Linked DNA regions of Homo sapiens: regions 1 and 2 are each linked to region 3. The links are contacts of gene promoters, found by promoter capture Hi-C in human tissues and cell types (Jung and others, 2019). All regions are on one chromosome and are shown on one strand. Each heading gives the region's core, a stretch centred on a gene start or on the middle of the fragment in contact. The rest is flanking DNA. Distances are from core to core; before and after follow the strand shown.

Region 1 (3,575 bases), core at 621-3,120, 280 kb before region 3:
AATTGTTACTTGCCTAACTTCTTCATTCAGCTGTATCCTATCTTAAACTTTTACTGCTGTGACACCATGTCTTTTATTTGGTTTCTTAGAAGGAGAGCCTGAGATGAAAATTCTTGTTCAAATTATTTAAATGGTTGATCTCAACGAGGAGAGTGAATGAAGCAGGCTAGAAAACAGAGAGAAAAGCTAAACAAATGTGAGTTATCATTTGAGGACTAAAACACTGAAACACTTGGAAGTTATGAAGCAAAATTTGTACCACAGACATACTCCCTCTTTAAAGCAACAGGGGGAATGTGTATCGTATGTGTCACTCAGACATTGGCAGAGATCAGCCTGCAGAAGTGAAATTGGTTTAGCCTGCAGGGGATAAACATAAGGGTGCAAGGGCCAATTCTCCAGAGAAACAGGAAGACATGAGTTGCTATCAGCCATTATTTTCACTCATTGGCGATGGGTGTCACAGCCAAAATGAATCTAGCAGGGGACTAGTAGCATCCACCTCTTCATGTTTATCAAAGTTAATATAGTTGAAGGTATATTGCTTCTCTCTACCTAGGCTGCCTATCAAACCCTGCCGTGCCAGAGAAAGTTGGGCCCTGCTTAAGTGTTGTTTATACAGCACTTTATGCCTCTAGGATCAATTATCACAGTAAATATAATCACTCTCTTTTCTTTTCTTTCTTCTCCTTCTTCTTTTTTTTTTTTTTGGTAAGACACAGAACTTCTCTGTCTCCCAGGCTACAGTGCACGATCTCAACCACTGCAACCTCTGCTTCTCGGTTCGAGAGATTCTCCTGTCTCAACTTGCCAGGTAGCTGGGATTACAGGAGTGTGCCACAATGCCCAGATAGTCTTTTGTACTTTAGTAGAGACAGGGGTTTCACTATGTTTGCCAGGCTGGTCCCGAACTCCTGACCTCAAGTAATCTACCCGAAGTGCTAGGATTACAGGTGTGAGCCACCGTGCCCGGCCTAATCATTTTCTTCGAAGTAGGTCTTCACAAGTCTGAGACTTACTTGAGGATAATAATTAAGTCTGATTAATCTTTATTTCCTCAGACCAAATGCAGTAATTAAATGATATATTATTGTAGATTACATATATGTTGTATTTTAGTTTTTTCAAGAAGTTGATAAAATGACAAACACAAAACTGAAATTTGGATATATAGCCCAGTTGGTATAAAATAGTGCTTTAGAGGTGAGTCTCTTGGAGTAAGTAAACTACTGTTCAAATGTTTGACAGAGAAGTTCTTTTAACTCCCTAAGCTTCAATTGCTTAATTTTACATTTTTACAATTAGAATTTTATATTAATTTTATAAGGATGAAAAGTATTGCCATGATCCTGTTTCTTGAACTAATTGAGAAAATGTATATAAAAGGGATTCGTATAGTAAGTAGAATGGTAAATATTAAGTGTTGAGCATATGCTAGATATTTTAATGATGATTGTAGGAAAAACCATGGTTGCAAGAAAATTCCAAGTATCAAAATCTCATGTTGATATTTCATGCTTTAAGTAATTTTAAAGAATCAACAGATAAAAAGTAGCACGTTAGACCTGAATTTGATATTTTCTGAATCTGTTTTATTAGATATTCAGATTCATGGCACATGACACAATGGATCATGAATATTGTTGCTTTATCTGAAGCTAGACATATCATTCAGATCTGTATGTATTCTCATTGCTGAGCATAGAGTTTATCCTGGCAATGTCAATATAACATATTCATGTAATCATGGAATTATTCTCTAAATGGGAGCTTCATGTTTAGTCTCATATGGTTCTATCAGTTTATAAAATATATCTCAGGAGTGACAGGAAACATGAAAAAGAAAGTACCTTGCATAATGAAGACCTAACTCCTGCAGCTTTTTTAATTAATTCAGTTTCTTTAATTAATTATCCTTTAAGACTGTGCCCGCCGTAGCTATGTTTCACTCTGCCAGAACACTAGCAAAGATCACCAGACTGTTTCTGAGACAGTTTTTTAAATTTTTTTAGAACTGAAAAATATGAATTCATTTAATAAATTGCCCCATCCAAAATTATGCCAAGAACACTTTGAGATGGTGATGGCTGCAATGCATTCTTTCTTCTGAAATCTTTGCTAAGAAACCACATTAATAACTTAAACCTCTAATTACAGATGAAAGGCTTGTATTTCATTTTGCCTTTTATACCTGTTTTCAAATGTTCTATTTGCTTTCCACAACTTCTTATTCATCAAAATTTGGGAAGCTATGAATTAGAGGTTTGAGGATTATGTAATTCAGAAAAAAACTGCCTAGTTTTTCATTGTCATTAAAAGCTATGAATAAATTAAAATAGTGTAAAAATGTGTTGGATTAATCCACATTTGGTTGGTTTAAAGTAACATAATACATGTGTATGCATGTCTGTCTGTGTGTGTGTACTTTATCACAATAATGAATATTGCTGGAAAGTGAATGTGCTGGAATAGCTTCAGAGAGCTTATCTCCATATATTTTCTTAATTGGCACATTATTGTACATATTTATGGGCTACAGTGTGAGATTTTCATACGTGTATTCAATGGGTAATGATCAAATAAGGGTAATTAGCATATCCACCAACTCAAACAATTATTATTTATTTGTGTTGGGGACATTCAAAGTCCTCTCTTCTAGCTATTTGAAAATACGCTATAAATTATTGTTAATTGTAATCACTCTACAGTACTATAGAAAACTAGAAACTATTGCTTCTATCTAGCTGTAATTTTATACCCCTTAACCAAACTCTCCCTATCCTGCCCTCACCACTACCTTTCCCAGCCTCTAGTAAGCATTATTCTACTCTACTTCCATGAGAGCAATTTATTTTTGCTTTCACATACAAGTGAGAATGTGCAGTATTTATCCTTCGATGCCAGGCTTATTTCACTTATCTTAATGTCCTCCAGGGTTATCCATATTGCCATGAAAGGCAGGATTTCGGTTTTTCTTATAGCGAAATAGCATTTCATTGTGTGTGTGTGTGTGTGTGTGTGTGTGTATGTATATATATATAAAATATTTTTAATACATTCATCTATTAATGGACAGTTAGTTTGATTCCATGTTTTGAGTATTATGAATAGCACAGCAATAAACATGAGAGTGCTGATATCTATTTCACATATTGATTTCCTTTCCTTTGGATATATACACAGTAGATGGATTGGTTGATTTAATGGTAGTACCATTTTTAGTTTTTTGAAAAACTTTTATAGTGTTTTCCATAATGGCTATGCTAATTTACATTACCACCAACAGTGTATAAGTGTTATCTTTCTTTTCTCCACATTCTCACCAGTATTTGTCATTTTTTTCTCTTTTTGTAAGTAGCCATTGTAATGTGAGTGAGGTCATATCTCATTGTGGTTTTGATTTGCATTTCTATCATGATTAGTGATGTCGATTATTTTTTATGCACTTGTTGGACATTTGTATGTTTTCTTTTCAGAAATGTCTATTCATATAATTTGCTCATAAGTAAACCAATTTATTTGGTATTTTGCTGTTGAGTTGTTTGGGGTTTTGTGTATTATAGATATTAATCCTT
Region 2 (3,443 bases), core at 721-3,220, 340 kb before region 3:
AAATGCTCTTAGTAATTATTTATATCATGTTTATCCTCTCAACCTGACTGTTATCTCTTTAAAATCAGAATATTTACATTACATATATATATATACACATATGTTTGTGTGTGTGTGTGTATATATACATATATACACACACCAGTATATATATATATATATATATATATATATATATATATATATATATATGTATATTCTGGTCCTTCATTAGGAAAGAAGTAATAAATTTGTAAGCTTGAAAGAGACATTTCAACTAATATCTCATTATTATTATTATATAATCAGCATAAAGAGTGATAGTGCACGCAGTTGGGCATTTTTCTTAGGATAAGTGATACATACTTGATGATTGATTTTACACAAATCCCACCAATCTGCTATATTGTAAATGAAGACAGAAAAATTATCTTACTCATCAGAAAAAAATATCAAGGCAAATTTGTTCTTGGAAACAATATGCTCATAAGATTTTAGTAATTACTTCTGAGCCTTTTTGTATTTTACTTACTACCATCCTCCATATGCCTTTGATATTTTTTGGCATATATACATCTTCCATATTTCTTTTTACATAAAAATATTATAAAAACACTGTTTCTCAAAGCTGGTCCATTGCTCATACTTTTCTAAGTACTTTTGGAGTACCATATTCAAGGAAATGTACAAACTGAATTGAACTTAATTTGTAATTATGACTATATCTGCTTTTAACCATTCCTATCTTCATGATACATCATGTACTCTATATAGCACAAAAATGTCTCAAAAGAAACTTATTTCCTAATTTTCCTTTCATTGTTAAAAAACACTTAAACCAAATATAGTGGTGTTCATTTTATCACTATATGAGCAAATATATGTTAAATGTGTACCTTGTATATAAGAACATATTTTTATATTAGCTTTGCTTAGATTATTATGTATAGTTTTTCATTCTGATGTTCAATATATTATATTTAGTCTCAAAGAATCTGGCTTCAATGCAAAGTAAGATTTATCTACTAAATTATATTTTTACAGCTATACATTCATATTTTCTGTCTCTGATTCAACAATATTCTGGTGATGATGCACTTAGGTTATTAAAATAGGTAGACTACATTGTTTAATTTGTATTCTGTCATTTGTTCATCCATAGGTCAATGTAGAAAGTATAAAAATTTCTGTTGTTCTCTTTTAATGTTGAGGTTTCCTGATGTCTTTGTCTTGCTCAAACCCAGTCACCCGCTCTCAGACTGTCATTCACCATCCTGTTCGGCTGGCTTGTGCTGTTTCACAGGAGTTTCCATGTGGGTCACACAGTCTGAGATTGCATGCTTCAGTTTCTGCCAGCCAGTCCTACAGGTCAGGACCTGCTGTTACCCAACCTTGCATAAGTCCTGGAGAGCTGCGCCAGAGCAAAACAATGCTGACAGACTGGCAGTGTCCCAAGGCCTTGTTGGTAAGAATCCTGTCTTACATTTGGTCTCTCCCACTGGAATGACAGAAACTCCAAATTATCCTGCATTCTTTGGCCCACAAAACACTATCCTATTTAATAGAACTCTTCCTTGAAAATTGTTTCCTTAAGAAATAGTGATAGAGAATTTCATTCAGATAAACAGGTAATTGTAAACATAAGAGGATTGCTTTTAACATTTTTTATTTTAAACAATTTTAAAGTTACAGAAAAATTGTAAGCATAGTATAAGGATTTTCCATATACTTATCAAAGACATTCACCAAGTTTTAACATTTGGAAGCATGGAATCATATATTCTCTGTGTGTAGGGGGAGTATGTGTGTGTTCGTATGGTTTTATATATGATTATATATATATGGTTTATATATACAGTATATGGATGTTGTGTATATATACAAACACACCACATACAGTCATGTGTCACATAATGATATTTTGGTCAAGGACAGATCACATATACAATGTTGATTCTGTAAGATTACAATATTGTATTTTTACTGTACCTTTTTTATGTGTAGCTACAAAAATACTAACATCATGTTACAATTCCCTACAGTATTCAGTACAATAACATGCTTGTATTTGTTCGCTTTCATGCCACTGATAAAAACATACCCAAGACTGGGAAGAAAAAGATGTATAATTAGACTTACAGTTCCGCATGGCCAGGGAGGTCTCAGAATCACAGCAGGAGGCAAAAGACATTTCTTACATGATGGCGGCAAGAGAAAATGAGGGAAAAGCAAAAGCGGAAAACCCTGATAAACCCATCACATCTCATGAAACTTATTCACTATCACGAGAATAGCACAGGAAACACTAACACCCATGATTCAATTACCTCTCCCTGGGTCCCTCCCACAACATGTGGGAATTCTGGGAGACACAATTCAAGTTGAGATTTGGGTAGGGACACAGCCAAATCATATCATTTTGCCTGTGACCCCTCCAAATATCATGTCCTCATATGTCAAAATCAATCATGTCTTCCCAACAGTCCCCAAAAGTCTTAACTCATTTCAACATTAACCCAAAAGTCCACAGTCCAAAGTCTCATCTGCGACGAGGCAAGTGCCTTCCACCTATGAGCTTGTAAAATCAAAAGCAAGCTAGTTATTTTGTAGATACAATGGGGGTATGGGTATCGAGTAAATACAGTCATTCCACTTGGGAGAAATTGGCCAAAACAAAGGGGTTACAGGGCCCATGCAAGTCCAAAATACAATGGGGCAGTCAAATTTCAAAGTTCCAAAATGATCTCCTTTGACTCCAGGTCTAACATCCAGGTCATGCTGATGCAAGGGGTGGGTTCCCATGGTCTTTGATAGCTCTGACCCTGTGGCTTTGCAGGGTACAGCCTCCCTCCTGGTTGTTTTCATGGGTTGAAGTTGAGTGTCTGTGGCTTTTCCAGGTGCACAGTGCAAGTGTGGGTGGATCTGTCCAACTGTCGGTGGACCTACCCTTCTGGGGTGTGGAGGACAGTGGCCCTCTTCTCACAGCTCCACTAAGCAGGGCCCCATAGAGACTCTTTGGGGGTTCTCCGACTCCACATTTTCCTTCTGCACTGCCTTAGCAGAGATTCTCCATGAGGGCCCTGACCCTGTAGCAAACTTTTTACTAGGCATCCAGGCATTTCCAACATCTTCTGAAATCTAGACAGAGGTTCCCAAACCTCAATTATTGACTTCTGGGCAACTGCAGGCTTAACACCACGTGGAAACTGCCAAGGCTTGGGGTTTCCAGCCTCTGAAGCCAAAGCTCAAGCTGTACATTGGCCCTTTTGAGCCATGGCTGGAGCAGCTGGCACACAGAGCACTACGTCTCTAGGCTGCATACAGCACATGGACGCTGGGCCCAGGCCACAAAACCACTTTTTCCTCCTGGATCTCCAAGCATATGATGGGAGGGGATGGCATGAAGGTCTCTAACGTGGCCTGGAGACATTTTGCCCATGGTCTCGGGGATTAACATTAGGCTC
Region 3 (3,332 bases), core at 542-3,041:
AAAGGTAATGGTGGCTTCCGGGACCATCCTTAATGTTGAGTTAATGGCAGAAAGTTTTCATCATTTACTTATTTGAACCACAAGAGGTAAACTAGATTATTAGCATAAGTGTTTCTAACAAAACTGTAACCTAAACTAATTCCAAACATATTTAATACTTCTTAGTTGAATAATATTTCCTTTAATTAGAACAATAAATATTTAAAATAAAAATAATACAAAACCATGAATTAAACTTTGCTATTGAATGAAATTATAAAGATTTAGAACAGTGATAAAATATAACAGCTTTATTTCAGCTATTTTGAAAAAATCAATAATCGATTAAGACAATTTAGGACCTTTAAGAACTTCTACAAAGTTAATCGATATTGAAAATTATGTTTCTGATAGGACTCAATATTTATATTCCAAAGGCTTCTGGCTGTAATTCCTATATAATTTTAAATTTAAATATTTCATTTCATTTTGAAAATATAAAAGTAATTTTAAACTTAAAATAAATTTTCTGAAATGTTTATATAATGTTAAAAGTTAATGACTGAATAAAAAATACAGAAATAAGCCTTTTGTGGATGACGTGTAAGTTATATTTGTTGATGCAATGTATCTACAGCTAGTGGCTATCATTCCTAGGTCAAATGCTTCTAAATTTAATGAAACGTTCATTACAAGATTTTGTTTTTATTGTCTGAAATTACATATTACTTCTTTCCTTCCTCTCCCTTGAATATAACCCATACTTAAACAAAATTGCTTCCAAATAAAGTTTTTATGGTATAAAGTAAAAATATATATATTCACACAACATACGCAGGGGAAAGTTCAAAAAAGATTGCAGTACCTCAGGAGACTGCAATGTTCATCACCTGAGATATATATACATCTCAGAACATAGACATATTATCAGACTCTATATCAATATTAAACATATGATTAACCAGATTATAACACAGTATTATCCCAAATATTACTAAGAATAAAACAATATCAATAATAATTAAGACGTAATTAATTGCAAAATAAAGTGGGTAAAATATATTTACATGGAGAAACTAACTACATAGTTATCAAAGGAACAGGCACATGTGCACTCAGCCTGCACTGGGTCACTTACTATTATCAACTTTTCTCTTATACCCGGGATGAACGGCAGGTCTAATATTACAAATATTGAAAACATGTCTTATGAAAGTAAAGACCCCTTTTTGGGGATGGAAGTGTCTGGTTTCATGGAAAGACCCAAGAATACTTACTGTAGAGATGACTCTAGTGGAGTTTAGCAGATGACTCTTCAAGAAACTCGCTTTCTATCGATATTGCATTTACTTAGGGGTTTTCCAGCTTTTTAGTACACACCAGATGTATTCACAAACATTCCCTCTGAAAGTCTTTCACATTCCCTTGTGTTGCCTAGACACACCTATAAAACGTAATTCTATTAAAGAGAAAAGAAAAGTAGCGCCCTTGTTTGCAGCTAGGAGGAACCACTCCCTTTTCCAGGATCCTTAACAGTAAGTACACGAGACAGCAGCATTCTGAATGGCAGGAGGAAGGCAGGCGATCAGCACAGGGCTGGAATCATCTGTTCCTGACCACCAGCAAGCCTGGCACTGCCGGGGTTATTTCCACTCCTCCCTTTCCCAATCCGAGAATTGCACAGTCCCACGCTCGAATTACACACATGGTCCAAGACTTCTCTCTCTTCCTACGAATGTGACATCCAAGGGGGCCCCGGTTGCGCCGCCCTAGCCCAGGGACGCCTTCGCCCTCGGCTGCCATCTATCGGCCACCGAGCGCCCGCTTCGCCCCGGGCCCATCATGTCTGCTGCAGCTTGGCTCGCACCAGAGGCGCGACAATAAACAAGTGCACTGGACTGGGCCCTGCACCCGCTCCGGAGCAGCTGTCTCAGAGACCCGGTGTTGCTTACCGCGTTGCCACCTCCTCGGCGCCCGGGAGGAAGACGCAACTTTCTCGGAGTTTTTTTTAGAGCCACCGGGCTGCCAGGACAAGCCACAGGCATAGAACGACGCGGTTGCTGCCCGCCCCCCCCTTCCCCCAGAAACCCCAAAGGATGTCGGTGATAGAGAGTTCCAACTAATGACGATTGTGCGCCGCATCTGGGGAAGGGATACAGAAAAAAACCCTGCAAACACCGTGAGGATGAAACTGCCAAAGGGATGCAAGAGCCTCTCAAATACTAATTAGGGGCCGCGGCGGCGGCGGGCTCGGCGCGGAGACAGCGTCGGCGGGATCCCAGCGCGGTGGTCGCCGCTGCGCTGGGGGGCGGAGGACAGCGCAGGAGCTGCAGCCGCCGCCTTCGCTGGAGCAGCCGAGGGGCCGGTGCCACCTTTGCTCGCCCCCTCACTACCATGTACAGTGTGCGCTGCAAGAAGAAGGCGGGAGATGCATGCACACCCCCGCGACCCGCTCCCTCTGGCTCGTCCCCCGGCGTGCGCCACTGACCAGGGGGGAATGTGGTGAAGACGGCGAGGAGGAGAGCCGAGGGGGGAGGGGAGGGCCGGCCGGCGCGAACCCAGGCCGGAGGGTGCGAGGAGCCAGAGGAGGCTGGAGGGGGCGGCGGCCACAGCTGGGTCGGAGAAAGTTGCCCCCTATGCAGATGGCAACTGTGAGTACCCCTGTGGGGGGGAGGGTGCAGCGAAGGCTGCCAGGGACCCCGCGATCGCGCCTTAACACGTATTGGAGCGAGTGTGCGAGTGATCATGAGTGTGAGCGGGTGCGAGCGCTCGGCGGGGCTGACCGTCACGTTGGCGGGGCCGGCGGGGCCAGGCAGTCTTCTCCGCGTCCCCCTCCTCCCGCTCCGTGCCTCCCCTCCCAGCAGCTCCCCCTCCCCGCCCCGCCCGGCTCCGGCTCCCGGCCCCTACCGCGAGGCGCCTCTCCAGCCGGACCTCCGCCGCCCCCTCCCGCCGCCTCCCTATCCCGCCGCTGCAGAACGCCCCCCGCTCTCCACCCCCCAACCCTGCTGCCCGCTCCGACTACCGCGGAGAGCACCGGGGAGAGCCTTTTGGGGAGCCCCGGAACCCGCGGTCGCCACCGCGGCGGCGGCCCCAGGCTGGAGGCGTCCGGGCGCCTCTTTCCTCCAGCCTCTGGGACTGCGCTGCTCGCAGTCTCCTCGCCCTGCCTGGGCTTGAGAAACCTAGTGCATACCCCAAAGAGGGTTTTTGTGTATGTGTGTGTTTTTAAAGGGTGGCTATGATGACTGGGCCTTGGAGATGTGAGACTGGGTAAGTCTATCGTTTACTTTGCAAAAGAGGTGTGTGTGTGTGTGTGTGTGTGTGTGTGTGTGTGTGTGTGTGTGTGTGTGTGTCTA

Evidence for each region. The method cuts DNA at HindIII sites, captures the fragments that hold promoters and counts their contacts. A contact is called where the count stands out against the background at its distance.
Region 1: a fragment that was not itself captured here is called in contact with the fragment with the promoter of SLITRK5 in region 3 in 1 of the 25 tissues and cell types used here (dorsolateral prefrontal cortex).
Region 2: a fragment that was not itself captured here is called in contact with the fragment with the promoter of SLITRK5 in region 3 in 3 of the 25 tissues and cell types used here (heart left ventricle, lymphoblastoid cells and mesendoderm cells).

Annotation. Positions count from the first base shown.
Region 1 is chr13:87,386,005-87,389,579 of GRCh38, forward strand. The region is part of intron 4 of LOC105370302 (a long non-coding RNA gene); the gene reads left to right. Among named protein-coding and RNA genes, the nearest start is that of MIR4500, 230 kb to the right of the region's middle. The HindIII fragment of the contact is 4,654 bases long and covers 1-3,575 here.
Region 2 is chr13:87,330,023-87,333,465 of GRCh38, forward strand. No RefSeq gene overlaps it. Among named protein-coding and RNA genes, the nearest start is that of MIR4500, 290 kb to the right of the region's middle. The HindIII fragment of the contact is 5,486 bases long and covers 1-3,443 here.
Region 3 is chr13:87,669,580-87,672,911 of GRCh38, forward strand. SLITRK5 (SLIT and NTRK like family member 5) reads left to right here and starts at 1,792. Exons shown (of 2, transcript NM_001384609.1): 1 at 1,792-2,630. LOC124900338 (formin-like protein 5) reads right to left here and starts at 2,788. Exons shown (of 2, transcript XM_047430855.1): 1 at 1,257-2,788. The coding sequence starts at 2,726. The coding sequence ends at 2,202. It overlaps MIR4500HG (MIR4500 host gene), which reads right to left and starts at 1,384. Exons shown (of 6, transcript NR_033829.1): 1 at 1,257-1,384. RefSeq lists an enhancer at 1,519-2,020. The HindIII fragment of the contact is 26,915 bases long and covers 1-3,332 here.